Regions from separate parts of the Homo sapiens genome. Here region 2 is linked to region 1. The links are contacts of gene promoters, found by promoter capture Hi-C in blood cells and fetal thymus (Javierre and others, 2016). All regions are on one chromosome and are shown on one strand. Each heading gives the region's core, a stretch centred on a gene start or on the middle of the fragment in contact. The rest is flanking DNA. Distances are from core to core; before and after follow the strand shown.

What was found. Contacts are between HindIII fragments. The CHiCAGO score rates a contact against its expected background, and 5 or more counts as called.
Region 2: a contact is called between a fragment that was not itself captured here and the fragment with the promoter of ROPN1 in region 1, in 2 of 17 cell types (endothelial precursors and M1 macrophages). The highest score is 7.4, in endothelial precursors.

Annotation. Positions count from the first base shown.
Region 1 is chr3:123,989,744-123,994,348 of GRCh38, reverse strand. It overlaps ROPN1 (rhophilin associated tail protein 1), which reads left to right and starts at 2,225. Exons shown (of 6, transcript NM_001317774.2): 1 at 2,225-2,427. RefSeq lists an enhancer at 1,937-2,453. The HindIII fragment of the contact is 3,137 bases long and covers 832-3,968 here.
Region 2 is chr3:123,737,880-123,742,484 of GRCh38, reverse strand. MYLK (myosin light chain kinase) reads left to right here. Exons shown (of 34, transcript NM_053025.4): 6 at 2,484-2,532; 7 at 3,423-3,588. Among named protein-coding and RNA genes, the nearest start is that of MYLK-AS2, 51 kb to the right of the region's middle. The HindIII fragment of the contact is 3,540 bases long and covers 886-4,425 here.

The DNA of each region.
Region 1 (4,605 bases), core at 976-3,475:
GTGCTCCTCCCTCTCTACTCTTACCTCTGTTTTAGAAGAAAGCAACTTTCCTGAATTATGTTATTATCATTTTCCTGTAAAATTGTATTCTCTTGACTGTATCCTGTTATATTTATTGACTAACAGATCAAGGATAATCTAACCTAGGCCTCTCAACCTGGCCTCCTACAGACAGACATCAAATCGCCTCAGTCAGACAGTCCCATGAAATTCCTCCCTTGTGTTTAACTTGCTACACTAAAATTCTATTCTGTTTCATCTCCCATCTCTAGCTGCTAGTGCTTTGTCTGAAAAACCCCTTCTTCTGCACAAAGATCATTATTATTCACTCCTGTCAGCATTATTTACTCTGCATGAAAGCAGGAAGAGATTGGCACACCTTTATCCCATGTGCATACAACAGAACAGACCCCAGTGGCCAGAGCATTCTTGTTATCCTGGAAGATGCACCTGCAGCCCTCAAGCCTCCAGCCTCCCCCTCCCAACCTAAGGCACACCCTGTTTGTCAAGTGCCTATACCAACACCTGGCAGCCCCTCCACAGAGGCCTCAGAAAGGCAGGTGATAGCTAGTGACTAGGTTTCTTTCATCCCCAGATCTTGCCCTGTGGGCAGTGGCCATCCCCAGACCATCCAGGATTCTCCAGGTGTGCAAGGACCTACAGGATTTTGACAAATGCCAGCAGAGTGGCCTCTTTACAAATGGATGACAACAGGCTGTGAAAAGCTTTCTGCATGCGTAACCCAAAAATCTAGTTCCCCCACTTGTTCACTGATGCTTAAAATTGCTTTAGGGAGAGACAAAGGCTTTCATCTCACAAACAGAGAAAGCTTTGAAGGGCCTGGGTGAACTAATCTATTTAGACTAATACACACTGTTGTATAAATGGAATGAAGGATTAGATGATGCAATGGGCCCCTTTAAAATAGGTGTGAAGTGACACGGGATGTAGCAGAGAAAGATGGGGCTTTTCTTGCCTCCTTGGGTGCTTAAAACGAACAGTCTTGAGACCAGGTGCGGTAGCTCAAACCTGTAATCCCAATACTTTGGGAGACCAAGGCAGGTGGATCACTTGAGCCCAGGGATTCAAGACCAGCCTGGGCAACATGGCAAAACCCCGTTTATAAAAATATAAAAATTAGCCTGTCATCGTGGCAAGCACCTGCAGTCTCAGCTACTTGGGAGGCTGAGGTGGGAGGATTGCTTAGACCTAGGAGATTGAGGCTGCAGTGAGTCATGATTACCCCATTGCACTCCAGCCTGGGCAACAGAGCAAGACCCTGTCTCAAAACACACACACACACACACACACACACACACACACACACACACACACACACACAGTCTTGAAACCGGAAGACCTGGAGTAAAGTTGGGCCCTGAGCCCTACTGCCAGCTGTTCGATCACAGGCAAAATTACTCGAAGCCTTGAGCCTGTTTTTTATTTCCAAAGCGAAGGTAATACCTACCTTCAGAGTTTACTGTGAAACTTTGATGTCATCATGTTTGTAAAAGTGCCCTGGCACAGTGACCACATTCTACCCTATAAATATTTTCTATCTTTCCCTGTTGTCCCCAGGCATCTCAGGCTCTGTTCCTATCCACTCCATGCCCCTTTCTTAGCATTATAAGGTCAAGAGTGAGGAATCTGGGACCACGCAACCCAGATTCAGATCCTGACTCTGTCACTTGCTGACTGTCATCTTGGACAAGTTTAACCTCTCTGTGCTCAGTTCCCTCATCTGTAAAAATGGGGATAACAATAGTACTTGCCTCATGGGGTGACAGTAAGGATGAAATGAGTTCATGTGTGTAATGCACTTAGAACAATTCCTGGCACCAAAAACTCATTGTAAGAAGTGTTGTTACTATGATTCCTGAGGAATTCTCACCTGTCCACTTTCCACAAGCCGAAAGATCAAGCTCCACTTCTGCCCTCTCACCTACAAAAGCGCACCGTCAATGGCTACACATTCCGCCCCACCCCCAACGCCCCCAGCCCGGGTTTCCTAACGTCCCCAGCCCAGTCCTTAACCCTCCAGGCCGTCTGGTCCTTCCACCACCAGCAAAGCCCAAAACAGCTTTCAGCGTCCCCTAGCAGCGCCCTAGCGGGACCCTGGGAACCCGCCGCTGCAGGAGAGGCGGGGCGGCTCTGTGACGTCGCGCCCGGCGCTACCCCTGGTGACCTGGCAGCGGAGCCCGCGCAGGGTTTGCCAGGCGAAGGCGGAGCGCTAACGTCTAACGCTAACGGCGGTCGTGCCCCGCCGCTGCTGTCACCCCCGGCCGCTGCTGCCCTCCCCGCCGAGGTTCTACTGCTCTCCTTCTTAAGAAGGGTGGGAGGCACTCGGTCTCTCCCCACACCTCTCGCCTGAGGCCAGGCGCCAGGTGTCGCCTGAAGCCAGACAGCCGGTTTGGGAGCGAGCCTGAGGTAGCCACCCCGAGGGGAAGTGGAGGGAGGGCAGGGCTCTGAGCGCCCCGAGGGCTGCGCTGGTCTGAGGGAGGAGCCCTGCCGGACGCCCCCTGGATTCTGAGCCTCTCCTTGTTCACAGGGCAAGGGGAAGGCAAGGGGATCTTCAAGAGAATGTGACTGTGGGGGATTATGGCTTTCTGGCCAATTTGTGTGCGTATTTTGTACCCAGAATACTATTATACGGTTTCTTACCCGGAGGACAGTGGTTGGGAGGCTCAAGAGTTTGGAATCAGAGCCCTCCACCGAGGAGCCACACCTCTGCTTTTTCATCAGCGACAGGGATATAAAAATACCTCTGGGTGAATTGTCATGTGGATGTCATGGGCATACCTAGCACTTCATAGACTCCTATCACACATTATTTTATACCTAGCACTTCATAGACTCCTGTCAGGCATTATTTTATACCTGGCACTTCATAGACTCCTATCACATATTATTTTATACCTAGCACTTCATAGACTCCTATCACGCATTATTTTATACCTAGCACTTCATAGACTCCTATCACGTGTTCATTTTATAGCTAGCACTTCATAGACTGCTATCACGCATTCATTTTTACTAGTACCTATTGAACACTAAGTTCCAGGCACTGGGCTAGGCACTGGGATGGTGTGGTGAGCAAAAACTGACCAGTCCTGCCGTGGAGTTTGCTGGGGGAGACACATGTTACTCAAAGAATCACACTAAGGATAGGTAAGTGATGCTCTGGAAGGGTATGTACAATGGAACTGACAGGGTAATCAGGGAAGGTTAAGCAGACCTCCAAAGGAAGAATCAACCTGTTAAGAGGAGGAGAATGTATTCCAAACAAGAGTAACCACATCCCAAACCCACCATCTCCAATTCCAAACCCAAACAGGGATGTGCAGTTGCCTGTGCTTGGTTCCAAGTGATACTCATAGAAACCCTCTGAGATTCTGCCCTGGAGCCTTTCATTCATGTTACTGGAGACTTTCATTTATGAAACGGAAGCCCTGTTTAGCCCATACCAATAAAACCAAGTGAGAGATCCCTGAAACAAGGCTATAGTCTATTTTAAGACCTACATTCTTCAGCACTTGGCAGGTATATGTTGGCCTCCATTTTACATTGAGAGGCATGTAGGTTTCACTTAGGAGGAAATGCATTGAATTGAAAGAGTTGGGGTTATGGATAAGCTCTGGAATGTATAATTGAAGAAGACCTACACTATCAAGAGATTTAAAAATGGAAAATAACTTTACAAAATGTTAGAATTGAGGAATGTTAAGATAGAATGGACCTTTCTCCCACTTCTTTGATGTGAACAAATGACCCTTATTGCCCAAAGGCAGGAAAGCTGGGCTTTGGTGCCTCTTCAACTCAGAGAGTCTATGATTTCAACTCTGTGATTCAAAAGTGCATGGAACTCCTGAAAGTAAATGGGAACATGGGGGGATAATTTGACCTGACCCTCCTTTAGTGTTTTCTATTTCTACAAGGGTACCACCACTGTGCACCCAGTCATCCAAGCTTGAAAACTGATAGTCACTCTAGACTTTTCTGTCCTTCACCTCTTCCTCCTTCTCCACCTTCTCTTCTTCCTCCTCCTCCACCTCCTCTTTTCTTCCTCCTCCTCCTCCTTCAGTAGTTACCAAATCCTGTAGATCCTATCTCCTAAATACTTGTCTCTTATATCACTCCCTATTGCAACTACTTTTCAAGGCAGTGAAGCTCCTGGGAGTTGTCAAAAGTGCTGCCATATTCTCCTAACCTGGCTCCCTGCCTGAAGCTTCACCATCCTCTCTTCAGCTCATCCACACAGCTGTCAGTCAACGTGTTTCAGAGTCCAACAAAGAGAAATAAATCATATAGTAATTTTTTGAGCATATAATTTAACAAGAGAAGTTCAATATAAAGAATTGTTAATGATGGGATTGGAGTAATGAAGGATTGGCTAATATGTCAGGAGAGATCTAAAATATACAGGAATCACAGATATAAGGGGCAACCACTACCCCTGAGATAGATCACCCAAGGAAGAAACCTTTCCCAGAGCTTGGTGCATAGGGGATGGCCACAGCTGACTGGAGAGCAGAGAAATTGCTGAGGTGCCAGGCAGGCAAAATTTACTCTCTGAAACACCAGAGAAGCCATTCACTAAAAGGTAAC
Region 2 (4,605 bases), core at 1,406-3,905, 250 kb after region 1:
ATTGTATTTATAGGTTTTAGAAAATACAGCTGAATAAAATTACTCAGAGTACCACAACCCCCAAAATAATCAGTATTAATAACATGATACCTTTTCTTGTCATTTTCCTGTCTTTGGGTATTTTAGTTTTACCTAATTATGATCACATTAAATAGGTAATTTTGTATGCTGCACAAAATGTATTTAACAAATATTTAAATACCTACAATGTGCTGGGATTTGTTCCGGATACATCTGATGAGTGAATAAGAAGTTCTAGTGGGGATATGGGTTGGGTCTTTAGCATATAGATGATATTTAAAGCTATGGGACTAAGACCTCCTGGGAGAAATTAGATGGAGCTGGGGAGAGGCCCAGGACTCAGCCCTAGGGTGCCCCAGCATGCAAAGGTTGAGCAGAGAAGGAGGTTGAGAGAAGATGAATAACCTGGTAAAAGCAGGAAAGTCTAGAAGAGAAAGTGCTTTGAAGGGGAGTGGGACCTTGTGTCAGATACTACTGAGCATCTGAGTGAGATGGAGACAGAGTGTCAACCATTGGGTTTGACAAGATTGTGGCTGGGATGGAGCCCAGTGGAGCGGAGAGGATCATAGCCCATTTGGAGTGTGCTGAGGAACGAATGAGATAATATCCTAACATGTACCTGCACGTTTCAGATATTCTTAAACATAATTTAATGGCAGAATAAGATGTCTAATTGTACATTTTACCTGACTACTTATTTTCTTCCTACTGAGTGACATTTATGTTGCTTCTAACTTTCACTATTACAAATAAGATAAAAGTGAATAGCTGTGTAAACTTTCTCTTCTAACTTTAGCGTCGTTTCCTTTGAATGGAGTCACAGAAACGGAGGTGCTGTCCCAAGAGCAGAGCATCTTTAAAGCTTATGATTTTTCCTCACTCAAGTATTTCCAGGAGGACTGGACAGTTGGCTCTGCCTCCAGCAGCATCTGAGGGCCCAGCATCTTGACTGTCAGTTGGGTCCTTTCAAAACAAGTCTCTCCTTTTATCAATTTAGAAGTTCTTTTACTTTTGAATAGAGAATGGAATGACAAAAACCAAAACACTTTCAGGAATGAAAACTAGACACAGCTCACTAAGTAATGTTAAACAGAAATGCCTGTATCGTAATCACCAATTATATGGAGCCACAGCTTAAATGTGATGCCAGTGTTTGTTATTAATCCCTTTTCACTAAAGTTCTGGTGGAATCTTAAACCGGGTGTGGCTGATGAAAATAGCCATGATTTTTCTCCTCCACACCTATGTTCTTACACAGTCATATAAATGTGATCAGAGTCAAAGTTAAGGAAGTTTACTCTTTTGCAGTAAACTCCCTGCAAATTCCCCACAGCAACTGTCTGCTGATATCAGAGGATGACTCTACCCTCCCTGGGATAGGGTTTTATAAACATCCCCAGCTTGCGGCAAAAGAAGAACAACTTTCAGGGTGATCATCATCTCAAAAAAGACCTCTTCCTCCCACCCCACCCCTCAAAATAAAACTCCCACTACTTTAGAGTTATTTCATGGTGACATTGTGAATTGTCCCTCCCAGCTGCAGGAGCTGGATGAAAGGAGCTAACCCCAGCTGCCTTGCTGGCTTTGCTATTTAATGGCCTCCTGCCTAGCACGGCAACAGCTCACCCAGGATCAGCAGCGCCCAGTAGGATAGCGCCTACTATGGCCTCATCATCTCACCTAGGACCGACTGGCAGTGCCCAGCATAGCAGCGCCTTGCCCAGGACTGGCAGTGTCTAGCATAGCAGCGCCTTGCCCAGGACTGGCAGTGTCCAGCATAGCAGCGCCTTGCCCAGGACTGGCAGTGTCCAGCATAGCAGCACCTTGCCCAGGACTGGCAGTGTTCAGTGTGGCAGCACTGCAGATTCTGCAGGAGCTGCTGGCTCCGCTGTAGCTCATCTGCAGTGACCTGTCCTGCTCTCTTTCAGCTTGCTGCTACTTGCCAGGCCTTAAGTGGAAGAATGGAGTGTTGATTGTGTCAGTCAAGAGTAGGTGTGGTAAGAGATAGGCATGGGCCTTTCCCTCCCTCCCTTTAACTGAGAAAATGTTCTGGAGAGGTCCTGAATCACCCCCAAATAATCCCCAAAATGGAAGGTAGAGCGTACTACCCTAACAACTCAGCAGGGTGGTTGAGAGTTTTAGAATCTGGCAGACCTGGGTGAATTTCTGCACTGTTACTGACTTTGTGACCTTGTATGGATGACTTAACTTCTCTGAATCTTATTTCTCTCATCTGTTTAAAAAATAGGATAATGTAGTATCAGCTTCATAAAATTATTGCAAGAAATTCACATGATAATGTATGTAAACACCTACCATAGTATCCATAGTGACACAGCCCATGCTCAGTCAAGATTAATGATCACCATCACTATCCCACCCACCCCTGCTGTTGAATCTTTTTACTTTCATTGCTCCAAGTTGGTGGCTCAGACCTGACTCATCAACTCTTTTTCTTGCAGGAAGTTTTGCGAAGCAGCTTGGTCAGCCTGTTGTTTCCAAAACCTTAGGGTAAGTCCTGGATGTTCAAGACAGAGTAAGGGTTGGATTGCTTTCCTGCTGACTTGAGCAGGATAGGTCTGGGGAGTAAGTCTTGGCTCTCCTAGGTTATAATAACCAAAGGGCGGGAGCCTAGTACAATGAGATGTGTCATTTACACAGCACCTCCTGACCTGGCTGCCTCTGTGATTGGCTCCTTTGACTGGCCCAGCTGCTAAATGTAAGGAAGTGGGAGAGGTGGCCAGAGTCTGCAGTGGACTCTAACAATCAAGGCAATAGTCAGAAGATTGAAATAAGCAAGCCTAGAAGAGGCGGGTAACAGTAGCTGCTGTAACAGACAAGCCTCAAATCACAGTGGCTCAACCCAGGGAAAGTTTGTTTCTTACTCAGGGAAAGTTCAGTTCAGATATCCTGGAACATGGGGAGAGCCTTCCACATTATCTTCCAGGAGCCCAGGCTTCTTCCATTTTATAGTTTCATCTCCTAGGCCCTTGAGCCCCCACTGGGCCTTCTGCATCTCACCAGCAGAGTGGACGAGAGACTGCAGAGCCTCACAGGAGGTTCTTATGAGTCGGCCCTGGAAGTGGCATACAGCTCTTCTGCTCATGGTCTCCTGGCTAAAACCCAGGCTTTCAGCCAGGGCTCAGTGGAATTCAGGCATGCCTAACTGCAAGGAAGGCTAGTAAATGAAGTCTAGCTGCATGCCCAAGAGGTAGAGGAAATAGGTTTTGGTGCCACACATTTTTCTAGAGAGAGCATGAGAAAGTTTCTGAGGCATAAAATTGGGAAGGCTACACTTTGATGGCTTCTGACCTTAACTTAGTGCCTTTGAGTGAGGTGGAGAGAGGATGGTTGAATTGCTGCCTTGTCTGGGACTGGATTCTCTGCCAATTTCCTTACAGGGATAGATTTTCAGCTCCAGCAGTGGAGACCCGTCCTAGCATCTGGGGGGAGTGCCCACCAAAGTTTGCTACCAAGCTGGGCCGAGTTGTGGTCAAAGAAGGACAGATGGGACGATTCTCCTGCAAGATCACTGGCCGGCCCCAACCGCAGGTCACCTGGCTCAAGGTGAGGTTTCTGTCTGCCCTGACCCTGATCCAGCCTGTATTAGTCTGTTCTCATGCTGCTAATAGACATACCCGAGACTGGGTAATTTATGAAGGAAAGAGGTTTAATGGACTCACCGTTCCACATGGCTGGGGAGGCCTCACAATCATGACAGAAGGTGAATGAGGAGCCAAGTCATGCCTTATATGGCGGCAGGCAAGAGAGCATGTGCAGGGGAACTCCTCTTTATAAAACCATCAGATCACATGAGACTTATTCACTGTCATGAGAATAGCATGAGAAAACCCACCCTATGATTCAGTTACCTCCCACTGGGTCCCTCCCACAACACGTGGGAATTATGGGAGCTACATTTCAAGATGAGATTTGGGTGGGGACACAGCCAAACCATATCATAGCCCTAGGGACCCTGAAAATTCAGGGTTAGACCCTTCAACTAGTAGGAGTCTTTCCATTCTGTTCCTCCTGTTTCAGGCGGTTCTCAGGGGTTCTCTGTATGTTTGTTAGGGATGCATGTTCCTGTCCCTATTACAACTCTCCCTCTGTTACTCAGACCACAGTGTTCTGACAATTCTCACACTCACAAAATAGCAGAAAACTTCTGAGTCAAGACAAGCCTGACAATCTCAAGAGTGGACTGTGAAGTTAGGGTTCTAGGTGTTAAGCCACAGCTCCCTGGTTTATAAAGCCTGTGAAGCTGGATAAGTCATTTGACTTCTTGGAATCCTGGTTTCCTTATCGGTGAGATAGAAATAATACCACCTACCTCAAAATATTGTCAGGAGCCTCCATGTAGAAGGGATTTATAAATCATTCAGGGCTGGGGGAAGTGAAGCTTAAGGGGGAGAGGTGGGCGGGCAGGGAGGCAGTGGCATGGGGTTGGGGATGGCTGTTAAACAGGGCAGTGAGGATCCTAGGGGAACAGGTAGAGTCATGGCCAGGGGAATAGGTTTTTCAGAGTTGGAATGCCTGGGTAAAAGTGGGTATTGACACCTTTTACCTGCTTCCTAATTCTCT